Linked DNA regions of Homo sapiens: all the other regions are linked to region 1. Evidence: promoter capture Hi-C in 16 types of primary human blood cells and fetal thymus (Javierre and others, 2016). All regions are on one chromosome and are shown on one strand. The core of a region is centred on a gene start or on the middle of the fragment in contact, and the rest is flanking DNA. Distances in the headings are between cores, read along the strand shown.

Region 1 (3,373 bases), core at 519-3,018:
TGTAATTTGTTACAGAAATAATTCTGTCCCAACTCGTTAACATAAAAAAAAGGGGAGTGCTAAAACGGGTAAATTTTCAGGATATATTAAAAACAGGAGAGAAGCAGCCATTCTAAATGTATCTTTTCTGGATTTTATAGCACGATTTCAAAATTTATAAAATGTTCACCCCCCCACCCGTCATTGTTACAAAGTAGCAATTACCGGCCATCCTGTTACCAAATGGGAATACACAAAGACAAAAACGTGTGTGTGACCGACACACACACACACTCACTCTTTTTTCCTGGTTTTAACTACTGAAAGTTAATATCAGGCCCCCCTAATTTCTAAAACATCTAATTGTTCTTTGGACAACTATGTTAGTACCAAACTATAAAAGCAAATACTTTTGTATTTGTGTTCACTACTGCAAAATGTTGGTTACACACAGAAAGGGCTATCGTGGAAAGAAATTAAAATCAATGCACAAAATGGTGCTTTTATAGCATTTCCAAAACGATTGTGCATACTCCTTGCCAGCACATCTAGACTTTGCTCCTTAAGACTAAACATGAGCTGGCCGTGCGCGGTGGCTCTCGCCTGTAATCCCAGCACTTTGGGAGGCCGAGGTGGGCGGATCACGAGGTCAGGAGATCGACCATCCTGGCTAACACGGTGAAAACCCGTCTCTACTAAAAACACAAAAAATTAGCCGGGCATGGTGGCACGTGCCTGTAGTCCCAGCTACTTGGGAGGCTGAGGCAGAAGAATCACTTGAACCCAGGAGGCGGAGGTTGCAGTGAGCCAAGATCGCGCCACTGCATTCCAGCCTAGGCGACAGAGCGAGACTCCGTCTCAAAAAAAAAGACTAACCAAGAACCAAATTAGCATACTTCCCCTTCAGGCATACTGAGCCCCGAAATCATCATCTTCCTCCTAAAGAGTAATTATCTCCTCCTAAAAGGCCTGCGCAGCTCACAGCTCCTCCGAAACACGGGGGAACTTCGCGAGAGCTCAAGACCCTGGACTTGAGTTTTAGAAAAATGCTTAACAAAGTGGCCTCTGCCACTTAACTGCACGACAGCCACTGTGCTGTGAGAGGAAAAGGTCGAAAGAGGAGGAAAGCTAGTCTTCAATTTTAATCCCTGTGATTCAGGCTCTTCGCCCGTCACTCTCCAACCCTAGCCTGACAGGACGTCAGGCTGTCTCCCCCTTCCCCACCAGTCCCGCCACCTACCCCGCAACAGTGCTGAGTCTTAGGATTTTGAAGCTTTAAAAATCAACCCGGCTCCCTAGAGTTCAGGCCGCAGTCGCTGCCGCCATGTTACAGCTTGTGCGGCAAAATGCGTCAGTGAGGGAGGTGTGCGCCTGAGTGGGGAGGGCGGGGGCTGGCAGAGGAAGGACCGTCCCCAGGCCCCGGGGCTCGACTGCAAGCCTTCTCCTTCTGCAACAGCGGCAAAGGCACTGCTGCGGTCCTCAGGGACTTCCTCTGGGCCCAAGCAGCCCCGATACCTCGAGGGAAAGACGGTAAACCCAACCCGGTCAGCCGCGCCGGCTCCGCCCCTCTTCCCAGGCCCTTCCCGCTTTCGTACGCAGGGACTGCTGAAATGACGCCGCCAGAACAACTTGAGCCTCATACCACTTACCTGCACCGGTAGAGTTTTCCTCTTCTCTGGGTCCGGTCCTTTGAAGCGCTTCAAATCTACCGCCGCCAGAAAAGGCGCTAAAGCCCGCTAACCGCCTCCCTCCCCCACAACTCAGTCCTGGCATGGAGAGACAGCGTCGCACCGGAAGCGCGTCAGGAGTGGGTTGTCAGCATCGGCCAGCGTTCACCTGCTTGCGTCACCACGCCCTCCTAGGACTTCTAGGATTTTGGTGCCTTTTAAATTCCTAGTTTATAGGTGGCCTAATGCTTTGTGGATGCGTTGACTGGGAACGCTTGTAACCGTTAAAATGCCATATCCTTTGTGAAGTAAAGTGCCTCATTTAATAAACATTTATTGATCTTACGCTAGGTTATCAGAAAGGAAGGCCTACCTTCATGGAGCTTCCAGTTAAGCTTCCACTTAACGCTAGGATATAAGTTCTAAAAACGCAGTAATGAGCAAAGTGTTATTTGAGGAAAGAGGAAGAAATTACAAAGAGCTTTGATGTTCTTTGTTGTTTTACAGATAAAGAAATTGAGGCTCAGGGAAGATAAACGCCTCCTCCTCAAACACACTGTTCTTGAATGCCAAAGCAAGTCTTTTGATGCCAAATCTAGTGCCTTCTAGAGAAAATATGGCATATATTATTTAATTATTTTAAGGGGCAAGGGTCCCCGGATTATGTTAGAAATAAATAACCATTGCTGTTTGGGCGGGGGGGTGGGGGGGGATGGGCAGTGATTCTGGTAGGGATGTGGGGTGTGTTTTAAAGGAACTAGCTAACTAGAGGACTTAAATTGTTCTGTCGTTTAAAGGCAACGTAAATTATGATCATTTAAATTTTTCACTCACTTGCATCAGGTAAATTAATTATCAACAACAGTTAGGCATGTGGTGGTGCTTCTAAGGGGCGTGACCAGTTTTACACAGCAGTAAAACAGAGGACATTTCTGCCTCTCCACCCCCACCTCTTTTAAGTCATTGCCCTTTATTGCAGGAGAGCAGCAGCATATTCATCTTTAGATAGTTCAGAGATTAAACGGATTTACACTTCGCTGTGTGTGGAGGGGACAATTCTGCAATACCTTAAAACAGGGGTCCCCAACCCCTGGGCCACAGACTGGCCTGGCTAATTTTTTGTATTTTTAGTAGAGACAGGGTTTCTCCATGTAGGTCAGGCTGGTCTCAAACTCCCAACCTCAGGTGATCCGTCCTCCTTGGCCTCCCAAAGTGCCGGGATTACAGGTGTGAGCCACCACGCCCGGCCAACGCTTTTCGAAAGAAGACATACTTGCAGCCAACAATCATAATGAAAAAGCTCAACACCACCAATCATCAGAAAAATGCAAATCAAAACCGCAGTGAGATACTATCTCATACCAGTCAGAATGGCTATTATTAAAAAGTCAAAAAATAACAGGTGCTGGTGAGGTTGTGGAGAAAAAGGAACATTTTACAGTGCTGGTGGGAGTTTAAATGAATTCAACTATTGTGGAAGACAGCGTGGCGATTCCTCAAAGACCTAGAGGCAGAAATACCATTTGACCCAGCAATCACATTACTGGGTATATACCCAAAGGAATATAAGTTGTTCTGTTATAAAGACATACACATATGTATGTTCATTGCCACACTATTCACAATAGCGAAGACATGGAGTCAACCTAAATGTCCATCAATGGTAGACTTGATAAAGAAAATGTGGTACATATACTCCATGGAATACTATGCAGCCATGAAAAAGA
Region 2 (3,373 bases), core at 574-3,073, 290 kb before region 1:
GGGATTTATAGGCATAAGCCTCCGTGCCCAGCCTCCAACATTTATCTCAAATAAGTTTGGACCTAATAGGTTGATACTTCAATAGGAATTCTCCAGTGAAAACTCAGATTTAATACAGTTATTACAAATGGTGTTTCAGAAGGATCTCTTTTTAGTTTTAAACCATAGTTTACTAAAATATTGAGGCAGTAAAGTTTTGGGCTACTCTTGAATAGCAACTGTACATTTTTCATGAGTTAGAACCAGAACCTTAATAAGCTAATCAAATTCCATTTAAGAAAAATGCATTCTCTTCTTTGGTCAATCTATTCTTTTTTGCCTCTAAATTTTTACTACTTTTATTACTTTTCTTAAAAAGAATAATACTGTTTTAGTTCAAAATAATTTTTTTCAATAATGAGTAAAGTTTGAGAGGTTTTTTTGGTTTTAATACAGAAAAGTTACAACTGTTCAAATTAAATATTTAGACAAACCTTGAACAGCCAGAGAACTAGTACCAGCAGATGGCTCCTGCACACCATATACAAGCTTATCCTCAGGATATGTAAGTCCAGAGCTCTTTAAAGCTATAAGGTACTTTTCATGACTTTTCTTTACACAAGCATTTTCTCCAAGACCTAATTAAAACAAACTTCAAATCAGAAAAAAATATTCCATTCAAAATCTCAGTATGGTCTTTTCATTAACTAGTATCTATAAATAGGTGAATATTCTAATGGAGTGGGAGCCCTAGAATGAATAATATAAGATAGCTTCAAATAACACTTTTGTGCTTATGTTTAGCACTAACAATCCGAGAATACACAGCATGTTTATACCAAATAATGAAATCTACAAAGTAGGTGGGCATCTAAAATATCCAAGGGAATGTGGGGCACAAGAATTAATAAGACATGATCCGAACTTTAAAGGAACCTGAAAATTACAGTAAAGAAAGTCAGAGAGGTAATATGGTAGATAATAATTATGTAGCGGAATTCACCTTCTGGTTTGACAGTCTGTGCTCTCGTAATACCAAGCATGCAGTTATCGAAAGCAGAGTGCTTGGGAAAGGCGTATGAATGTTTTGTATAACAATACACCATTCAACAATTCCAAGTTTTATAACTTAAGCTGTATATTAGAAAATCCTAGGCGATACAACACAAAAACTTAAAATATCAAAAGTGAAAACATAGACATGATGGTTGTTACTGTTAAAGAAAGGGGATCACTTCTCAGCCTTGCGTTTAAAGAAAGAGACGTAGGGCCGGGCGTGGTGGCTCATGCCTGTAATCTCAGCACTTTAGGAGGCCAAGGCTGGCAGATCACCCGAGGTCAGGAGCTCAAGACCAGCCTGGCCAACATGGTTAAAACCCTGTCTCTACAAAAATACAAAAATTAAAATTAGCTGGGCATGATGGCAGGTACCTGTAATCCCAGCTACTCGGGAGGCTGAGGCAGGAGAATCGCTTGAACCCAGGAGGCAGAGGTTGCAGTGGGCTGAGATCACGCCACTGCACTCCAGCCTGGGCAACAGAGCAAGACTCTGTCTCAAAAAAATACAATACAATACAATACAATACAATACAATACAATAAAGAGAGGCAGAGCATAATTATCATGTCACACCAAAAGTTAGGAGACCTAGGTTCCAGTACCAACTCCAACATAAATTAATTGTGAGGTTTAAACAGGCCATTTCATTTTCCTAGGGCTCAATTTCCTCATCCATAAAACAAGAAGTTCTCTTGCCAGGCGCAGTGGCTCACGCCTGTAATCCCAGCACTTCGGAAGGCCAAGGCGGGCGGATCATGAGGTCAGGAGATCGAGACCATCCTGGCTAACACAGTGAAACCCCGCCTCTACTAAAAATACAAAAAATTAGCTGGGCGTAGTGGCGGGCGCCTGTAGTCCCAGCTACTCGGGAGGCTGAGGCAGAATGGCGTGAACCCAGGAGGCGGAGCTTGCAGTGAGCCGAGATTGCGCCACTGCACTCCAGCCTGGGCGACAGAGCTAGACTCCGTCTCAAAAAAAAAAAAAAAAAGAAGTTCTCTTAATAACTTCCAGCTTTAGCATTCTATGAAAATTCTACAATTTACCTTTAAGTTCTAAAAGACTCAATTTCTTATCATTATAGTAAGATATGAAAACTATAAATTTCTTCTAACATTTTACTCACCAGAAGTCAGATCTTTGTAGTTTTGTTGGTTTGTCAAAACCTGAGTAAGAACAGACCGCATTGCTCCTCCCATTTTAGTCAGGTCTTCTAAAAAGGAAATTTGAGGTTCCAAAAGCTGAAGGACTTTGTTAAGGTCCTTTTCTGATGGTCCATCAGCTGCTAAAAGAAAAAAAGAAAAAAAATCAAATAAGGGTAATTTTGTTTAAAATATCTTACTAAAAATAACAGTATTTATTCTTTTAAAATTATAATGGCTTAAATTATAGTATTTTATAATCAAAAAAGTCAATACAAGAACTCTGTTTAGAAATTGGTATCTGCCCAGCACCTAGCCAAGCAAGGGTAGACTTGCTCAGGAATTCAGTCCTTTGGAAAACAGTAGATGGAAAAACACAGATGACCTCCTAAGATATGAAGCACTTAATTTGTGTAAGAAGCATTTAAATACAAAAAATTAACCAAGTGTGGTGGTGCGCGCCTGTAGTCCCAGCTACTCAGGAGTCTGAGGCAGGAGGATGGCTTAAGCCTGGAGGTGAAGGTGGCAGTGAACTGAGATCATGCCACTGTACTCCAGCCTGGGCAACAGAGTGACACCCCATCTCAAAAACAACAAAAAGAAGCAGCAGCATTTGATCTGTGGGCCCTATACTTCCACATATATAAATGTCATCATAAGATCATTTCAAAAAAAGATAGTATTTAAGAAAAAGTTTAGATCACATCCTAGAATAAAACAAGATATAATTCAAATACATTGAGAGTAGTATAAGAGTATTATGTCAAATTTAAACCTGTATAACAAATAACCTATCCCCTATAATATTCCAAAAATACAGATACATGTTAGCTGAAGGTCAAAGCAACTAAAGTGAAAGATAACTTTTCATAAATATGAATAATTGTATTAAAAACTAAAAAAAAAACAGGCAAATAGAGATGGAGAGAAAGAAAAGCTTGGACAACAACTGAAAAAGAATATTAAAGACGAAAAATATAGAGAGGTTTTACAGAAGCCGAGGTCTAAAAGGAAGGAAATGAATAAAGAGATGTATAGCTTAACCATAATTTTTTTAAAACAAAAACAAACAAATGAACAAAACCACACCTATAAAAGAGGTAATGGAGAACCTGTGTGCCCAGGAAAGGGGATGTCCATTTCATTCAACATTTATTCAGAATCTCAAAACCTACTTTCTCAGTGTAAAGCTAATG
Region 3 (3,373 bases), core at 409-2,908, 260 kb before region 1:
CACCACTCCCAGCCTTAAAAAACTCAAAACTTCTAAATGACCCATTGGCTAAAGAGGAGATCACAGAAAATAGAAGATATTTTGAACTGCATAAAAATGAAAATATATCAAAAATGTGGGATGCCTGTACACTGTGCTTAGAGGGAAATTTATTGCATTATATCTTATTAGAAAAGAAGACTACAAATCTAAGCTGCCACCTTAAGAAACCATAAAAAGACTAGGAAATTAAATTCAAACAAAACGAAGGAAGAAAATAATAAAGAGCAGATATCAATGAAATTGAGAACAACAACAACAAAAAATCAGTAAAACCAAAAGCTGGTTCCTTGAAAAAGTAACAAAAGTGATAAAAAGCCAGCCAGGCGCGATGGCTCCCACCTGTAATCCCAGCACTTTGAGAGGCCGACGTAGCAGATCACCTGAGGTCAGGAATTAGAGACCAGCCTGGCCAACATGGTGAAATGCCATCTCTACCAAAAAATACAAAACAATTAGCTAGGCGCAGTGGTGCACACCTGTAGTTCCAGCTACTGGGGAGGCTGAGGAGGAAGAATCGCTTGAACCCAGGAGGCAGAGGTTGCAGTGAGCCACGACTGCACCACTGCACTCCATCCTGGGTGACAGAGTAAGACCCTGTCTCAAAAAAAAAAAAAAAAAAAGAGAGAGGGTTTCACTACATACTTTACAGACATTGAGAAAATAAGGAGAAATAGTACAAACAACATTCTGCCCATAAATTCAACAACTTAGATGAAATGGACAAACTTCATGAAAGATTCAAACTGTCAAAGCTCACATAAAGAAAAAAAAGTACTGAATAAATGATACAGGTCACTAAAGAAATCGAATATGAGGCCGGGTGCAGTGGCTCACGCCTGTAATCCCAGCACTCTGGGAGGCTGAGGCGGGTGGATCGCCTGAGTTTGAGACCAGCCTGGCCAACATGGTGAAACCCTATCTCTACTAAAAATACAAAAATTAGCCAGGCGTGGTGGCAGGCACCTGTAATCCCAGCTACTAGGGAGGGTGAGGCAGGAGAATCAACTGAACCCAGGAGGCTGAGGTTGCAATGAGCCGAGGTCGCGCCATTGCACTCCAGCCTGGGCAAAAAGAGCGAAACTCAGTCTCAAAAAAAAAAAAAAAAGTAAAGAGAAAAAAGAAAAGAAATGGAGTATGTTAAAACCTTATTCAACAAATGTTACAGCTAAAAAGCTTCCAACAACAAATATTCCAAACCTAGATTGTTTCACGGACAAACTCTATCAAGATATTTAAAAAAGGAATAATGTCATATTCTACACAAACTCTTACAAAATAAAGAGGAGGGTGCCCTTCCCAACTCATTTATGAAGCCAGCTTTACCCTGAGACCAAAATCAGACAGAGATATTGCAAAAGAAGAAAACTACAGTACAATATCCCTCTTGACTACAGATACAAAAATCCTCATGTCAAAATACAAGCAACTTAAATCCAGCAATCTATAAAAGGATAATATATCATGACGTGGATTTTATCCCAGAAATGCAAGACTGGTTCAATAGTCAATAATTATTCCATGTGTAATACTACATACATGGTGTTATGGTTTGAATATGTTACCTCTCCAAAACTCAGGTTTGTAACTGAATCCCCACTGTGGTGGTATTAAGAGGCAGGGCCTTTGGGGAAGTGATTACATCATTAGGGGTCTGCCCTCTCAGATGGATTAGTGCCTTATAAAAGGGCTGGACAGAACTAGCTCAGGCCCCTTTTGCTTATCCACTCTTCCACCATATGAGGACACAAGATCTGCCCCTTTTGCTCTTTTCACCCCTTCCACCATGTGAAGATGCAGCAGAAGGCCCTCACCAGATCCCAAATATGAGTGCTTTGATCTTGGACTTCCCAGCCTTCAAACTGTAAGAAATAATTTCTGTTCTTTATTACTCAGTCTCAGGTATTTTGTTATAACAGCACAAAATGAACTAAGCCAGAAATTGATACGAAGAAATGATGTCGTTGCTATAATAAATACCTGAAAATGTGGAAGTGGCTTTTGAACTGGGTAATAGGTAGAGGCTGGAGTAGTTTTGAAGTGAATGCTAGGAAAAGCTTAGATTGCCATAAAAGAAGCATTAAGGATAGTTCCAGTGAGGGCTAAAAGGAAGAATGGAATGTTGGTAGAAATATGGATAGCAAAAGCCATTCTGATGATCTCTTAAACAGAAATGAGGAATATCGTATCAGAAACTGGAGGAAAGACCATTCTTTTTACAAAATGGCAAAAAAATTGGCTGAATTGTACCCATGTCCTACTGTGTCCAGAATTGGTGGGTTCTTGGTCTCACTGACTTCAAGAATGAAGCCGCGGACCCTCGCGGTGTTACAGCTCTTAAGGTGGCGTGTCTGGAGTCTGTCCCTTCTGATGTTCAGATGTGTTCGGAGTTTCTTCCTTCTGGTGGGTTCGTGGTCTCGCTGGCTCAGGAGTGAAGCTACAGACCTTCACGGTGAGTGTTACAGCTCTTAAGGCAGCGCGTCTGGAGTTGTTCGTTCCTCCTGGCGGGCTCGTGGTCTCGCTGGGCTCAGGAGTGAAGCTGCAGATCTTCACGGTGAGTGTCACAGCTCATAAAAGCAGCGTGGACCCAAAGAGTGAGCAGTAGCAAGATTTATTGCAAAGAGTGAAAGAACAAAGCTTCCACAGTGTGGAAGGGGACCCGAGAGGGTTGCCAATGCTGGCTAGGGCAGCCTGCTTTTATTCTCTTATCTGGCCCCACCCACATCCTGTTGATTGGTAGAGCCCAGTGGCCTGTTTTGTCAGGGCGCTGATTGGTGCGTTTACAATCCCTGAGCTAGATACAAAGGTTCTCCACGTCCCCATCAGATTAGTTAGATACAGAGTTTCGACACACAGGTTCTCCAAGGCCCCACGAGAGCAGCTAGATACAGAGTGTCGATTGGTGCACTCACAAACCTTGAGCTAAACACAGGGTGCTGATTGGTGTATTTACAAACCTTGAGCTAGACTTAAAGGTTCTCCACGTCCTCACCAGAGCAGCTAGATACAGAGTGTCGATTGGTGCACTCACAAACCTTGAGCTAAACACAGAGTGCTGATTGGTGTATTTACAATCCCTGAGCTAGATATAAAGACTCTCCACGTCCCCACCAGACTCAGGAGCCCAGCTGGCTTCACCTAGTGGATCCCGCACCGGGGCTACAGGTGGAGCTGCCTGCCAGTCCTGTGCCGTGCGCTCGCATTCCTCAGCCCTTGGGTGGTCGACGGGACTGGGCACCGTGGAGTAGGGGGTGGTGCTCGTCGGGGAAGCTCAGACCGCACAGGAGCCCATGGAGTGGGTGGGAGGCTTAGGCATGGCGGGCTGCAGGTCCCG

The links. The method cuts DNA at HindIII sites, captures the fragments that hold promoters and counts their contacts. A CHiCAGO score of 5 or more calls a contact.
Region 2: a contact is called between a fragment that was not itself captured here and the fragment with the promoter of PPIG in region 1, in 4 of 17 cell types (total B cells, activated CD4 T cells, erythroblasts and 1 more). The highest score is 5.6, in total B cells.
Region 3: a fragment that was not itself captured here is called in contact with the fragment with the promoter of PPIG in region 1 in 3 of 17 cell types (fetal thymus, naive B cells and naive CD8 T cells); the score reaches 5.9 in fetal thymus.

What each region holds. Positions count from the first base shown.
Region 1 is chr2:169,582,746-169,586,118 of GRCh38, reverse strand. It overlaps PPIG (peptidylprolyl isomerase G), which reads right to left and starts at 1,768. Exons shown (of 14, transcript NM_004792.3): 1 at 1,629-1,768. RefSeq lists an enhancer at 1,803-1,852. The HindIII fragment of the contact is 789 bases long and covers 1,255-2,043 here.
Region 2 is chr2:169,874,738-169,878,110 of GRCh38, reverse strand. It overlaps UBR3 (ubiquitin protein ligase E3 component n-recognin 3), which reads right to left. Exons shown (of 39, transcript NM_172070.4): 3 at 2,162-2,320; 4 at 474-617. Among named protein-coding and RNA genes, the nearest start is that of UBR3, 49 kb to the right of the region's middle. The HindIII fragment of the contact is 2,586 bases long and covers 531-3,116 here.
Region 3 is chr2:169,841,782-169,845,154 of GRCh38, reverse strand. The region is part of intron 1 of UBR3 (ubiquitin protein ligase E3 component n-recognin 3); the gene reads right to left. Among named protein-coding and RNA genes, the nearest start is that of UBR3, 16 kb to the right of the region's middle. The HindIII fragment of the contact is 881 bases long and covers 1,218-2,098 here.